Linked DNA regions of Homo sapiens: all the other regions are linked to region 1. The links are contacts of gene promoters, found by promoter capture Hi-C in blood cells and fetal thymus (Javierre and others, 2016). All regions are on one chromosome and are shown on one strand. The core of a region is centred on a gene start or on the middle of the fragment in contact, and the rest is flanking DNA. Distances in the headings are between cores, read along the strand shown. Region 1 holds the start of LONRF1 (LON peptidase N-terminal domain and ring finger 1). Region 2 holds the start of RNF122 (ring finger protein 122). Region 3 holds the start of TTI2 (TELO2 interacting protein 2). Region 4 holds the start of MAK16 (MAK16 homolog).

Evidence for each region. Contacts are between HindIII fragments. The CHiCAGO score rates a contact against its expected background, and 5 or more counts as called.
Region 2: a contact is called between the fragment with the promoter of RNF122 here and the fragment with the promoter of LONRF1 in region 1, in 4 of 17 cell types (naive CD8 T cells, non-activated CD4 T cells, total CD4 T cells and 1 more). The highest score is 9.7, in naive CD8 T cells.
Region 3: a contact is called between the fragment with the promoter of TTI2 here and the fragment with the promoter of LONRF1 in region 1, in 1 of 17 cell types (naive CD8 T cells). The highest score is 6.5, in naive CD8 T cells.
Region 4: the fragment with the promoter of MAK16 here is called in contact with the fragment with the promoter of LONRF1 in region 1 in 5 of 17 cell types (non-activated CD4 T cells, total B cells, naive CD4 T cells and 2 more); the score reaches 17.3 in non-activated CD4 T cells.

What each region holds. Positions count from the first base shown.
Region 1 is chr8:12,753,927-12,757,502 of GRCh38, forward strand. It overlaps LONRF1 (LON peptidase N-terminal domain and ring finger 1), which reads right to left and starts at 1,600. Exons shown (of 12, transcript NM_152271.5): 1 at 774-1,600. The coding sequence starts at 1,494. RefSeq lists silencers at 1-238, 379-918, 815-1,005, 1,009-1,348, 1,429-2,098 and 1 more and enhancers at 1,074-1,893, 3,547-3,576. The HindIII fragment of the contact is 11,195 bases long and covers 1-3,576 here.
Region 2 is chr8:33,565,470-33,569,045 of GRCh38, forward strand. RNF122 (ring finger protein 122) reads right to left here and starts at 1,659. Exons shown (of 6, transcript NM_024787.3): 1 at 1,230-1,659. The coding sequence starts at 1,254. RefSeq lists silencers at 1,034-1,083, 1,224-1,273, 1,304-1,373, 1,424-1,543. The HindIII fragment of the contact is 8,620 bases long and covers 1-2,621 here.
Region 3 is chr8:33,511,415-33,514,990 of GRCh38, forward strand. It overlaps TTI2 (TELO2 interacting protein 2), which reads right to left and starts at 1,721. Exons shown (of 8, transcript NM_001102401.4): 1 at 1,668-1,721; 2 at 553-1,298. The coding sequence starts at 1,199. SNORD13 (small nucleolar RNA, C/D box 13) reads left to right here and starts at 2,061; the gene lies at 2,061-2,164. RefSeq lists enhancers at 1,753-1,892, 3,413-3,576 and a silencer at 2,323-2,372. The HindIII fragment of the contact is 19,476 bases long and covers 1-3,576 here.
Region 4 is chr8:33,483,399-33,486,974 of GRCh38, forward strand. It overlaps MAK16 (MAK16 homolog), which reads left to right and starts at 1,784. Exons shown (of 10, transcript NM_032509.4): 1 at 1,784-1,823. The coding sequence starts at 1,809. RefSeq lists enhancers at 940-1,576, 1,564-1,713 and silencers at 1,204-1,393, 1,604-1,791. The HindIII fragment of the contact is 3,746 bases long and covers 1-3,576 here.

The DNA of each region.
Region 1 (3,576 bases), core at 350-2,849:
ACTGCAAAGTACATAGGAAATAAGCAGGATCTGAAACAGGCCAGCTGAAACTTTCAAGAGGAACCAGTTCAGGCATTTCCAGGTAGCAAGGGACCACCCTGGGCAGCTCCGCCCCAAGCCCCAAGCCCGGCGGCCTGCAGGGCCTCCCGGGGCCGGGCGCCCGCGCGGAGCTCCCGCCACGCCCACCGGACGTCACCCGTTACACAACGCCCCCCGCCCCCAGCTTATGCAATTCTGCCCTCCCGCGGTTCCCAATTGTCCCGGTGACTTTTGTGGGTGAGGAAGGGAGACGCCGCCTGCCCGGCCTAGTTGCCCTCGCGGGGGATTCTCTCCCCGCCCCGGCAGTCGTTTCCCCGCGGCGGGCCCGGCCCGAGAGCCAATTCCCGGAAAGCGCGCGGCAGGAAGCGAGCGGCCGCTCGGGATAGCCCAGCTACCACCCATCCCGCGCCGGGGCGGCCTCGGTCCAGGTCACCCACTCCGCGCCGGGAGCGCGCGCCCGACAGCCAGGCCGCGGCCGAGGGAACCCCGCGCCGAGCGCCCCTCCCCGCGCCGCGTCACAGTCGGCTCCCAGGGCGATCCCCATTATGACCGAAGCACCCCGGGGCGCCGCCCCCTCCCACACCCCCCAGCACCCCGAGACCCGACACGCCAGCGGCCCAGCGGCCCCGGGGAAGCAGAGGAGACTCTCGGGGCGCAGACAAGCTCCGGGTCCCCGGCCCTCGGGGCCAGGAGGGTGCGGTCGGCCCGGCCCCGCCGCATCCCCGCGCGGTCACCTGCTCGCAGCGCCTCGCAGGCGGCGGCCAGGGCCTCCCGGTAGCGCCCCTGGTGCAGTAGCTCCCCGAGCCTGCCGGCCGCCCGGGCCCGCTCGCGCTGGCCCGGAAACCACTTCTCGGCCAGGTGGTTGAGGACGACGCTGGTTCTGAAGTCTGAAGCGGCGATGGCGGCGGCCAGAGGCGGCGGCCGCGGGGCGGTCCCTTCAGCATCAGTGGCACTGGCGGTGGCGGGCGGCAGCCGGTCCCGGCAGAGGCGGCAGCGGGCGCGGAGTTCCCTCCGCAGGCAGCGGCGGCAGTAGCTGTGGCCACAGGGCACGGTCACCGGCTCGCTCAGGAAGCCCCGGCAGCCCAGGCATCTGAGGAGCCCGCCGGCGCCGCCGTCAGCGCCTGCAACCGGGGCCGCGCTCCAGCCCAGCCCGTGGCGGAGCCGGTAGTTGAACACCAGGCAGTCCACCAGGGCGCCCAGGCACTCGGGCCTGGCCGGGGCCCCGCGGCGCAGCGCCGCCGCGAACGCCTCCAGCGCGCCCTTCAGGTGGCCGCCCAGCGCCAGCAGCTCCCCGCGGCGGAGCAGCAGCTCCCAGCGCTCCGACTCCGCGGCCGCGCGCTCCAGCCGATGGCCGCTGCCGCCGCCCACTTCCCAGAACCGGCCTCGGCCCTGCGGCGCTGGGGCCATCTCCCGACTCCCTCCTGGGGAGGTCCTCGCCACCGCCGGAGAGGACATGGCCCGCGGAGGGCTGCGCCGCCGCCGCCCGCCGCCACGGTCCCGGAGCCTCCCGGGCGCGCGGCTCCGCACGCGGCCCGCGAGCAGGGGGGCGTGGCGCGCGGACACGGCGGGGCTGCGCGCGCCCGGGAAGCCCCGAGGGCGGGGCCTGGCGAGGGCGGGGCCGGGCTCGGCGACGGCGCCCGGGACTCCCCCACGCCGCCCGCGGCCGCGCTCCCGAGGAGCCAAGCGCTGGGCCCCGCCCCTTCCGAGCCCCCTCCGGGTGGGGGACGCAGGTCGGATGATTCCTCCGTCGGAGATCTAATTGGCTTCTCCGGAAAGGAGGGCTCGGCTCGTGACGGAACAAAGCCGGAAGGACCCCGGAGCTTCAGTCCCCGCTTGCCTGTCTGCCAACGCCGCCACCTGCGGTGGCCCTCGCCCCTGCCGGGGGTTGGGGGACGCTCCCCTGCCGCGCGGGACTCCGGGTCACCACCCCTCCCCCGACGCCCCCGCCCAGGCCGGACCTGCCCCAACTCCTGGCGGGCGGGGGTCTCCCCGCGTGGCCTCGCGCTTGTGCGGGTCTGCATTTTCATAGCTCTACGCCCATGTTCCAGGTGGGCGCGCCCAAGCAGGGGGCCTGGGAGCGCACCTTCGGCAGATGACTGGGACTCTTCGGTTCTAGAGGACTCAACTTTAAATATGAACAAAAAACCCACGTTCCTGGGGCGACTCCCTCCAGAGGGCAAGGAGTTTTTCCTGGTGCCAGGTGACTGCTTGCCCGTCTTGCTTAAAACTCATCGTGGGCCCACCTCGAGGGAGAAAGCCCACAGCTTCCTCAGGTGTCTCCACACCTCAAGCACTGCCTTACAGCTGGTTAAGGTCTATATTTGGCAGTTTTAAAAGAAAACACCAAGAAACATGTTTCACATGGCGGTCACCGTATTACTACAACCCAAGCTGGCTCTGCAGTTTTGCTGACAGAAGAAAATGATCGGGTTGATATATAATGGGTGCTATTTCCCTTAAACTTCACAGCAGCAAGTTTAAAGCTCTCAGCTGAAAATACAGATTTGATGATAGGGTATTAGATCGCTAATGTTGGAAGTCACTTAGGACTTTTAGTCCTTTTTCAAATGATTGGAAACACAGGGAAAGTTATTTGTCAAAAATCACACAGCTAATACAGATTTTAAGATCACGTCTATTCCACTACTACTACGTTAGACTAATATGTAATATTTAATAAAATATGTAATATTTCATAGAAATATATGAGATTTTCAAAGTAAAAGAAGTTGCTAATTGGAAAGTTCACCTGAGCATGCTATGTATGAAATTGGTAAACGTTTAATATTTCTCTTTATAAGGAACAGGCAATTAAGGCTAAAAAATGTTTTGAGTTCATGTGTTTTCACTACACAATCAACAAGTCGTGTAACGTCAGAAAAGACAGAGTTATATTACCCTAAAGGGAATGAATAAAAAAGAGGTGCCTGAGAAAAAGCCAAGCCTCCTGTTCCAACAGGATGCAGACAGAAACAAGTTCATTTATCACTCACATTGCACCTGAAGCAAATTGCAGCTAGATCCAAGGAGCACCTCCTAAGCATTTGGCATGGGAAGCATTGGGATTAAGTCATGAGCATAACCTTAAATCCAATCCTAACCCCTAAATTACTACCTTAACAAGCAGAACAGTGACTTTCAGCTGATGTCCACATACTCCCTTGAGACTTGAAATCACAAACAAATATCCATGTGTACACGCACATTCATTTTTGTAACGCATCCTTGTTCTTAATGGCATGTTGCAAAATTTACAACAGTAAATATGTAATCAATGTGTTCATGTTTATTACAAGGAGCATAGTAAATTAATAAACACTCATAAACTTCTTTTCAAATATAAAGTCAGGTTCTATTATGGGATTTCTGCCAAAAGTACAATATGTGGTTCAGAAAATAATGTGAAGTATTATTTGTCCTTTGGAGTTCCTTTTCCTAATAAATATGACAACCACATCTGATTCTGATGTGAAATAAAATGGCACAATTATGATAATGTGCGGGAGAAAAAAATGGGACCGTAGGAGGAATCTTACC
Region 2 (3,576 bases), core at 409-2,908, about 21 Mb after region 1:
ATCGGAACAACGCGGTCAAGACTAGGACCCCAGGAGGACTGGAGCGGGTGGGGTGGGGGGCGATTAGTATCCAAGGTTTTGAAGTGTCCCGCTCAGAAACACCTACCTTTCAGGTAGCTCGCTGAGGAATCAGACTCCAGCCTAACCCAGTATCACCTGAACCTCCAAAAAGCCTCAGGTGAAATGAACTAACTTAGAAGCATCACCCAGGCCTGGGGAGAAATGGGGCGAGGGGTTGTCGCGTCTGGAGGTGTGGCCTTCACTTGGGCTCAGGAGCAGACACCCTAATCTGGCCTTGTGGCCAGAAACACGGCTCCCGCCAGGCCAGCCTCGCACCCCAGGGACAGCCGGGCGCGGAGCTCTCTGCGAGGGTTTATCAACTCAGGAAAACGGCTTTTTTTTAGATGGAGTTTCGCTCTTGTTGCCCAGGCTGGAGTGTAATGGCACGATCTAGGCTCACTGCAATCTCCGCCTCCTGGGTTCAAGCGATTCTCCTGCCTCAGCCTCCCAAGTAGCTGGGCTTACAGGCATGCGCCACCACTCCCGGCTAATTTTGTATTTTTAGTAGAGACGGAGTTTCTCCATGTTGGTTAGGCTGGTCTCGAACTCCCGACTTCAGGTGATCCGCCCGCCTCGGCCTCCCAAAGTGCTGGGATTACAGGCGTGAGCCACCGCGCCTGGCCGAAAGCGACTCTTTAATCCAGTCTTCCGCAAGCACCCAAGCCACGCCAGCAGCCCGTGGGAAACCAACAAAGCCAGAGGAAGCTACCCCCGCGCCCAGTCCCGCACGCTGCACGGTATACATATTTACAATAGCCTGCAAAGTTTCAGGCCGGGAACTTGAGCTCCCTCTAGGAGATCCCAGCCCGAGTGCGGATTTAATTCTCCTCCAACAACCACAACAAAGAACAGAGTTTGAGCGCACAAAGGCAGGGGAAGGGGGTAGAAGAGCCGGGCCGCCACACAAAGGCCGGGAACCCCTCGGCTCCCACGCCCCCGGCCCGCCGCCAGTCCGGAGGCCCCTTCCAGGCTCTGGAGTGAAACCTGGATAGTTTCAAATTCCGCGCTGTGCAGAGCAGAGTGGGGCGCCAAGACGCCTTCTCGACTGTCCCATTTCAGGAGAAACTTGGTTCCCGAGGGAGGACCAGCGCGCTGCTGTCCGACCTCGCACCCCGCGCCGCGGCTCCCACCAGCCCCACGTAGGCTCGGCCCTCGCCCCGGGGACTCACCGTTACACCACTGGAATGGGTGCATCAATGAAGTCGCGGTTGGCTTCCTCGGGCGAACGGACGCAGGCGGGGTGCCAGGAGGGCGGGGTGGGAGCACTAGCGGCGTGAGGGGCCGCAGGCGGGGTCGGGGCAGCGCGCTGCAGCCGCCCTGCTGGAGAAGCCGAACTCCCTCCGGAGTGGGGGGCTTTGACGAGGCTGGTGTTCAGCCCAACAAAGAGGGACGAGGAGGAAACAAACAAAGTCCCGCGGAGCACAGCCGCACGGAGCGCACGCGCCAAGGGCCCCGGGCTGGGGGAATGTGGGGCGCCGCGGGGCGGGGGTGCCCGGGCTGCAGAAGCCCTCGGCCGGGGGAGGAGGGAAAAACCTTTGCCGGAGGCTCGGATCGGGTTCAGCGGCGCAGAGGTGAGCTGGCTGGGGTTCCGAAACTGACACCCGGCGGTGCACACCCCCTCCCTTTTACTTCCCCCACCAGTCCCCAGGAAAACTCCGCCCCTTGTTCGTCACCCTCCCTCCGACCAATCGGAGCCTTTCTCCTGCCCCCGGCTATTATTTGCAGGCCCAGCCTCCCTTCCCTGGAAGCCGGGAGGATCTTCGCACGGTGGGCGCCTCCCACTTAGTCTTCCCAGGCCTGGGGAAACTTCGGTCTGCAGAGAATGGAGCGGCGACGAGCGATGCCCCGGAGTGGGGGCCTGCCTTTTGCCCAGGGACACCAAGGCAAAGGAACAATTACTGCCACATTGTTTTCCGCCTACAGATCTGTTATTTATTTACTTATGTATTTGGAGGCAGAGTCTGCCTCTATCGCCAAGGCTGGAGTGCAGCGGCGCGATCTCAGCTCACTGCAACCTCTGCCTCTCGGGTTCAGGTGATTCTCCTGCCTCAGCCTCCTGAGTAGCTGGGATTACAGGCGCTTACCACCATGCCCAGATAATTTTTGTATTTTTAATAGCGACGGGGTTTCGCCATGTTGGACAGGCTGTTCTCGAACTCCTGGCCTCAAGTGATCCTCCTGCTTCAGCCTTCCAAAGTGCTGGGATTATAGGCGTGAGCCACCGCTCCCGGCCCTCTTTTTCTTTTTTGAGTTAGAGTCTTGCTCTGTCACTCAGCTGGAGTGCAGCGGTGCAATAATAGCTTACTGCAGCCTCCAACTTCTGGGCCCAAGCAGTCCTGCCACCTTAGCCTCCCAAGAAACTGGGACCACAGGTGCCTGCCACCAAGCCCAGCTACTTTTTAATTGTTTTGTATAGATGAGTGGCCTCACTATGTTGCTCAGGCTGGTCTCGAACTCCTGGACTCAAGTGATCCTCCCGCCTGAGCCTCCCAGATTGCTGGGATTACAGGCATGAGCCATGGCACCCAGGACATTTCATTTCTTAATTGGATAATTGCAAAAGCTTCCTAACTGGCCATTCTGATTCTAGTCTATAGCTCAGACTTCAGAGCCTACAAGAATCACTCCTATGTTTGAGATGTAACATGCAGATTCCCAGGCCTTGAACCCAGAGATTCTGATTCAATAAAGGGTGGACCCAGAAATTTTCATTTTAATGTGCCTTGTCTTCCCCACCCCTCAAATTCTCATGCGGCTATTGAAAGAAACAGTGCTCTGATTTCACTCTCAAGTCCATCCCTTCTGGTCACAATTATCTCTGTAAAATGTAAATCTGAACATTTCTTTGCTTGATAACGTTTGTTGGTCTCCAGTGTTTACTGAATAAAGTTCTGTAAACTAGAGTGTGGCATTCAAAATGTTTCAGTCTAGACTCACTCCTATAATCTCAAAACTTCGGGAGGCTGAGGCGGGCAGATTGCTTGAGCTCAAGAGTTTGAGACCATCCTGGGCAACATGGTGAAGCCACCTGTAAAAAAAATACAAAAATTAGCTGGGCCTGGTGGTGCGCACCTGCGGTCCCAGCTACTCTGGTGGCTGAGGTGGGAGAATCACTGGAGTTCGAGAAGTCGAGGATGCAGCTGCAGTGAGCTGTGATTGTGCCACTGCACTCCAGCCTGGGCGACAGAATGAGACTACTCTGTTTCAAAAAGAAAAAAGAAAAAACTATTAAAATAAAGTGTTTCAGTCTAGCCTTATTTGTTTCAGTCTTCCTCATACTCAAATACTCCCCTTCACCACACACTATTCATCAGCCATGAAGCTTTTTGTTGTTACTCTTCCTTGAACATAGGCTGTGTATATTCTTTTTTGTTGTTGTTTTTATTTATTTAGAGACAAGGTCTGGTTCTGTTGCCCAGGTTTGAATGCAGTTGCATGATCTTGGCTCACTACAACCTCCACCTCCTGGGTTCAAGCCATCCTCCCACCTCAGCCTCCTGAGTAGCTGGCACTACA
Region 3 (3,576 bases), core at 471-2,970, about 21 Mb after region 1:
TGGAAAGAGCATTGGACAACTGAGCCCGAACATCTCAGTTATGACCTCCAATTTGCCACTATCCAGTTATGTCATTTATAGCAAATCACAACGTTTCTGGGCCTTAAGAGATCCGTGGTTACAGCACCCTTATTTTACTGCTGAAGAAATTGAGCTTCCTTTGAGGTATAACGCTATAAAAAATTAAGCTAGGGCAGGCGCAGTGGCTCACGCCTGTAATCCCAGCATTTTGGGAGCCCGAGGCGGGTGGATCACTTGAGGTCAAGAGTTCAAGACCAGCCTGGCCAACATGGTGAAACCCCGTCTCTACTAAAAATACAAAAAATCAGCCAGGCGTGGTGACGGGCAACTGTAATCCCAGCTACTCCGAAGGCTGACACAGGAGAATCGCTTGAACCCAGGAGGCGGAGGTTGCAGTGAGCTGAGATCGCAACATTGCACTCCACCCTGGGCAACAAGAGTGAAACTCTGTCTCGAAAATAAATAAATAATAAAAAATAAAAATAAAAAACTGTGAGGCTCAAGTCGGTGGCAAAGGGCAGGAGTACTCACTTATACAAGTCGGGTTTGAGAAGCCCTAGTATCACCGAAAGTCTCCCTTTCTCATCTTCATTTTCTCCATGTAGGAATCCTGCCACAGAACCGCATTCAGTAACTTGAAGCAGTGAGGTGAGCACCTCCCTAGCAACTTCCCGAGATCTCGGAGTGGTCCATGGTTGCTCCAAGCTGTGTGTGATGGCAAAAATATAAACGGGTCCTGCCAAGTGATGCAGGCCCGTCTGCCATGCAGGGCCGACCAGGGAATTCTTAGCAGTCTCAACTTTCCCTAACAGTTTAAGAAACAGTAACCCAACTTGGGCTGCTTTCTCGGCCGCTTCGGAGTGCCCATCACCTCCACCTTCCTCCTCCTTGGAGGGGGCTGCATACTTCTCCAGGGCTTTTGCTACCTGCCCCAGTGTCTCCGGCATTCCGCGGAGCCGTGCACCAGTCCCCTCAAATAACCTATCAAATTCTGTGGCTTCTATTAGATCACCGAGGTCTTTAAGAACTGCATCTTTTACATTGCCTCGTCGTGCCTCCGGGCGGGCAAGACAGTGTAAAATCTTGGAGAAGGCCTGTCCAAAGGCGGAGTGAGACAACTCCTCGGACAAATTAGAGTCTTCCTGCGATGGGGCTTCCAGAGCGCTGTCAAGCTCCATTCCTGACTGCAGCACCAGAAGGCTGGTCTCTCCCACAGAACGAGGATGGAGGCGGGGAGGGATCCGTTGAAGAGGGAAGGAGCGATCACCCAAAGAGAACTAAAATCAAATAAAATAAAACAGAGAGATGTCTTGGAGGAGGGGGCGAGTCTGACCGGGATAAGAATAAAGAGAAAGGGTGAACCCGGGAGGCGGAGTTTGCAGTGAGCCGAGATCGCGCCACTGCACTCCAGCCTGGGCGACAGAGTGAGACTCCGTCTCAGTAAAAAAAAAAAAAAAAAAAAGAATAAAGAGGAAAGGACGCAAGAAAGGGAAAGGGGACTCTCAGGGAGTAAAAGAGTCTTACACTTTTAACAGTGACGTTAAAAGACTACTGTTGCCTTTCTGAAGACTAAAAAGAAAAAAAACTTAAAAATTTAAAGAAATAAACTTCTGAGCCATGTCACCAACTTAACCACCCCCAGGTACCTGCAACGGCTCGCGCCCGCCGGTGTCTAACAGGATCCGGACCTAGCTCATATTGCTGCCGCAAAACGCAAGGCTAGCTTCCGCCAGTACTGCCGCAACACCTTCTTATTTCACGACGTATGGTCGTAAAGCAATAAAGATCCAGGCTCGGGAAAATGACGGAGAGGTGGAACTATAGAGAATAAATTTGCATATATAATAATCCGCTCGCTAATTGTGTTTCTGTTTTCCTTTGCTAAGGTAGAAACAAAAGAATAATCACAGAATCTCAGTGGGACTTTGAAAATATCCAGGATTTTATACGTGAAGAATGGATGTATCGCATTACGGTAGTCACCCTATGTGTAAATTAGTGGCACATACTTGGCACTCCTTAATGTCAACTATAAGATGATCCTTTTGTAGTTCATGAGCGTGATGATTGGGTGTTCATACGCTTGTGTGAGATGTGCCACCCTTGAACCTTGTTACGACGTGGGCACATTACCCGTCTGACCTGAACTTCAAGGATCGATTTAACACTTGTATTTGTGGGCTTGTTACTTATGATAACAGGTGGCCTAGTTTCATGGCTTTGTGTTTACCGTTTTCGGGTGCCCTTTTTTCTGGCTGTATGCTACACGCACGGGTGCTTTTCCGTTGTCCAACTGTGTAATGTGTTTTTGTGTTTGTTCTTTTGTGAGTCGGAGTCTCGCGTTGTCGCCAGGCTGGAGTTGCAGTGTTGCGATCTCGGCTCACTGCAACCCCCACCTCCGGTTTTCGAGAGATTGTCCTACCTCAGCCTCCCGAGTAGCTGGGACTATAGGCGCGCGCCACCACGCCCAGCTAATTTTTGTATAAATATTGGCAAGGATGGTCTCGATCTCTTGACCTCGTGATGCGCCCGCCTCGGCCTCCCAAAGGGCTGGGATTACAGGCGTGAGCCACCGCGCCTGGCCAATGCAGAGCTTTTTAATGGCTTTAATTTTTTAGGTTTGGGAGATACCTGCGCAGGTTTGTTACCTGGATATGTTGTGGGATGCTGGGATTTGGAGTGCAGCTTAGCCCGTTTTCATTGCCCCCTCTAGTAGACCACAGTGTCTGTTGTTGCCACTTTTATGTCCACGTGTTCCTAATGTTTAGCTCCCACTTATGAATGAGAGCATGCGGTATTTGGTTTTCTGTTCAATGCAATACTTTAGCTGGTTTCTGGAGCTAGCGTTTTAAAGCCTGTAGCCACAAGCGTTTGAAAATTCAAATTCTAGCGTCAAGGTAGAAGCCCCCAGCTGGCGTCTGGGGCAGCCCTGAGGGAGGTGGGTCGTCGGGTTGGCGGATCCGGCTTGGGCCCGCCCCGCCAGTGTCGGCGCCGGGTGCGCAGGGACAGCAGAGCGCTGTCTTGGGCATGGGTCGCAGGCGGCGCCCGGAACGGGCCAGGGGAGCTGGAGGCTGCAGACTCGGGCTCGGCGGGTGTAGGAACCAGTGGTGTTTGCTTGGGTTTTGAGAAGGCGCGAGAAGGGTCGCGCCTGTGCGACCGCCCTGTGTTGGGTCCCCCACGCCGCGTCGGCATTGCTTGTTCCCTCTTCCTGCGCTTTCCTGGAGGGTAGAATTGCGTCCGATTGGCCTTCAGTTCCCGAGGAGCTGCTTCCATTTAGGACCTTGTGACTCTCATAGCTTCCACGGTTTCGCAGGAGCCCGAGGAGGCAAACTTCATTTGTGCCACTGCACAGGCGGGAGCTTCGGACCCTGGGAGGGGTGGCGCGAGAGAGACGTGTCGCCAGCTGCTCGGAGAGGGACTCTTATTCAGCCTCTAAGGCGTCAATTGCGCCTCCAGGGTTCCAGGAGTCCAGAGAAAGCCCTTCGGGGTCTTCTGACCTGGGGTAGGGTGAGGGGCGTGTGTGCGCGCAGGGGCGAGGGAGGGGTGACGTGTCAG
Region 4 (3,576 bases), core at 534-3,033, about 21 Mb after region 1:
TGGTTGCCCATTTTTATCGCTATTTGTTCATGTATTTTTTGAGACTGATTCTTGCTCTGTTGCCCAGGCTGAAGTGCAGCGGCTTGATCTCAGCTCACTGTAATCTCTGCCTCCCAGATTCAAGTGATTCTCCTGCCTCAGCCTCCCAAGTAGCGGGGACTACAGGTGCCCACCACCACGCCTGGTTAAGTTTTGTATTTTTAGTAGAGATGGGGTTTCACCACGTTGGCCCGTCTGGTCTTGAACTTCTGACCTCGGGTGATCCACCTGCCTCGGCCTCCCAAAATGCTGATTACAGGCGTGAGCCACCAAGCCCAGCCTATTTATTGATTATATGCTAAACACGGAGCGGATTACTTACGCCTCTCCTTTTTAGACCATATAGAGTAATTTCCTGATGTTGCCATGGCATTTGTGGCGCCAGTGGGAGTGTAGCAGTGAGGACGACCAGAGGTCAAACTCATTGCCATCTTGGTTTTGTGGGTCTTGACTGGCTTCTTTACTGCAATCTGTTTTATCAGCAACATCCTTATGACCTGTATTTTGTGCTGACCTCATCCTGTGATTTAGATGGCCTGACCCTCGGGAATGCAGCCTAGCAGATCTCAGCCTTATTTTACCCAGCCACTATTCAAGATGGGGTTGCTCTGGTTCAAATGCCTCTTGACAGTCTTTCTTTCCTTTTCTTTTTTCTTTTTCTTTTTTTTTTTTTGAGAGGTAGTTTTGGTTGTCACCCAGGCTGGAGGGCCACAGCATGATCTCGGCTCACTGCAACCTCCGCCTCCCGGGTTCAAGCGATTCTCCTGCCTCAGCCTCCCAAGTAGCTGGGATTACAGGCACCTGCTACCACGCCCGACTAATTTTTGTATTTTTAGTAGAGACGGGATTTCACTATGTTGGCCAGGCTGGTCTGGAACTCGCCCGCCTAGGCCGCCCAAAGTGCTGAGGTACAGGCGAGAGCCACCGCGCCCGGCCCGGCCGACAGTCTTTCTTCTATAATACGATACAAACTAGTAAAGATTTTCTTTTTCCCCTGGCGGAAAAGAGCTGTTAGGCTTCCAGATTTGTTTTTGTGGGTTATTAGACCTCTACTTTTCTTCTTGGTATTTTCCCTCCCTTATCAACTTTGTTTGTTGTCTCAAATAGGCAATGAGGAAGACACAGGTGTTTATTATTATTGGAATGCTCTTTCCATTTGGTCAGTGGTTTCTCAAAGCAGGAGGAATTCAAGTTCTGAGTTTCTAAAGTCAGGACCCGGTGCCGCACCCAACGTGGGCGTGGGGAGTGGCTAAGTCAGGGTCTGAGGGGCAGGGCCGGGGCCTGGCTGCGAGCTGGGGCCGGGGGACTCGGAGGAGCGGGGACCCAGCCCCGCCGCGCCGCCTGCAGCTTTCCCCAGCCTCCTCCCAGCAGAGGGGAGGCCCGACAGGGAGGGGTCCCATCCTCATGAACGGTCACAAACAGGGCGCTAGGGAAGCACGCCCGACCCCCGCGGTCCCCGCGCTCCAGGATTCGGCAGACTGCGCGCGTCCTGCCTCCCGCGGATCGCACTGGGTCCCAACAGGGTTCCCAGCTCCAGGCTGCGCCCATGAACAAGCCCAGCATTGCGGACGGGCGCGCGCAGACGCCAGCGTGGTGAAGACGCGGGGGCGCGCGCGCGGCGACGAGACTGCCAGGGGACGCTTCGCAACACCGAGAGTCTCAGCGTTTCTCGAGATAGGTGAGGCTGCGCGTTCCGGAACTGGTTTCCCGGAAGGAGCATGTCTGCGCCCGCGATCCGACCGGAAGTTGCACGCTGAGCCGCGGACACCATGCAGTCGGATGATGTGAGTCTCCTCCGGTTGTTCTTACACCCGGGGTTTGCGCAGGGAATTTTGCCCATTTTCGGACACTTAGAAAACGCGTACGCAGCGGGTCTGTTGCCTCGTGCCGCTCTGGATGTGAGGCTTCCGGAACCCCGATTTTCCAACATAGGTTCTCACGCGTGTCTAGCAGGGGTTTACTGCCCGCTGCCCCGGCCGGGTTGTGAGCACAGGACTCCGTCACCTCAGCCCATGGGGTCGATGTGTCCCGTCCTTCGTGCCTACCAATGCAGGACGTCGCGTCATGCTGTCAGCTGTCAGCTGTCAGCTCCGGACTTGGGGTGGGGGGCGGCCCGGGATTTGGCGAAGCTGACTCCAAGTTTAAGCGTCCTTCTCATCCATGTGCGCGTTACTCTTCCATCTGCGTTTCCTGTGTAGGCTTTTCTTTACATTTGCTCTACTTCTGCCTAAGTCATAATTTCGGAAGTATCCTAGATTCATTCATTGAGTTTTTTGTTGGAGAAATAACAGTGTGCTTACAGTGTGCCAGGCATTGTGGTAATTATTGAGGATTTGGTTAACCAGAAAAAATGTCCCACCTCTCCTGGAACACTGATGGGGGAGACACAGTAAACAAGTGAACAAATAAGTTAACAATTACACTATATAATCATACTATGAAAGAAAGACCAGAGATGATGAAGGACACTTCAGATAGGGTTACTCAGGGAAGGTTTCTCTGAACAGAAGATGTTTGAGTTGAGATCTAAAAGATAAGAATAAGCCAGTCACTGAGGAGCTGAGGAAAAAGCAATCCAGGCAGTAGGAACAGTAAAGTACAAAGAGTTGAAGATATGAGAGAATGAATATAAGGGTCATCAAAGTGACAATGTAAGACAGGTAATGAAATTAGATATGCTTGCCAGGGCGAGGTCATGCAGAATCTTGTAGGAAGTGTTTTTTAGGCCTTTTAATGATCTATGTTTGTGAAAAGTTGTCTAGTTGCTGTGTGAAGGACTTTTGGAGGGAAAAAATGAAAGCAAGGAGACTAGGGTATGACAAAGGTTGCTTCAAGCCAGACACAGTGGCTCATGCCTGTAATCCCAACGCTTTGGGAGGCTGGGGCTGGAGGATCGCTTGAGGCCAGGAGTTCGATTCCAGCCTAGGCAATAAAGTGAGACTCCATCTCTACAAAAAATAAAAAATTAGCTGGGCGCGGTGGTGTTCGCCTGAGGTCCCAGTTACTTCGAAGGCTGAGGCAGAAGGACTACTTGAGCCGAAAAGTCCGAGGCTGCAGTGAGCTATGATGGCACCACTGCACTCCAGCCTGGGTGACAGAGAGACCCTATCTCTAAAGTAAATAAATTTTTTTAAAAACGAAAGTGGCTTCGCCTAAGGTAGTAATTTAATGGTGGAGATGAAAAGAAATTGATGAATTTGAGACCTTTTACGTCAGTATAATTGACAAGACTTTGGTGATGGATTAAGTGAAGAAGAAAAGGAAGAAATCAAAGGATTTGGGATATAAATACATAGTTAAATGGTGATTTTATTTATTGAAGTGGGGGAACTCTAGGGAAGACTGTTCTTACGAGGGATGTGGAATTGAGAACTCCTTGTGGATATGTTAATATTTATGTTGCCTTTTAGATATTGAAGAGATGTCATATAAAAATCTGGTGCTCAGGAAAGAAGTCTGACCAGAAAATAACAATTTAGGAGTCATCCATTTAGAGATGATACTTAAAGCCACAAGCCTAAAAGAGCTCCCTTATTC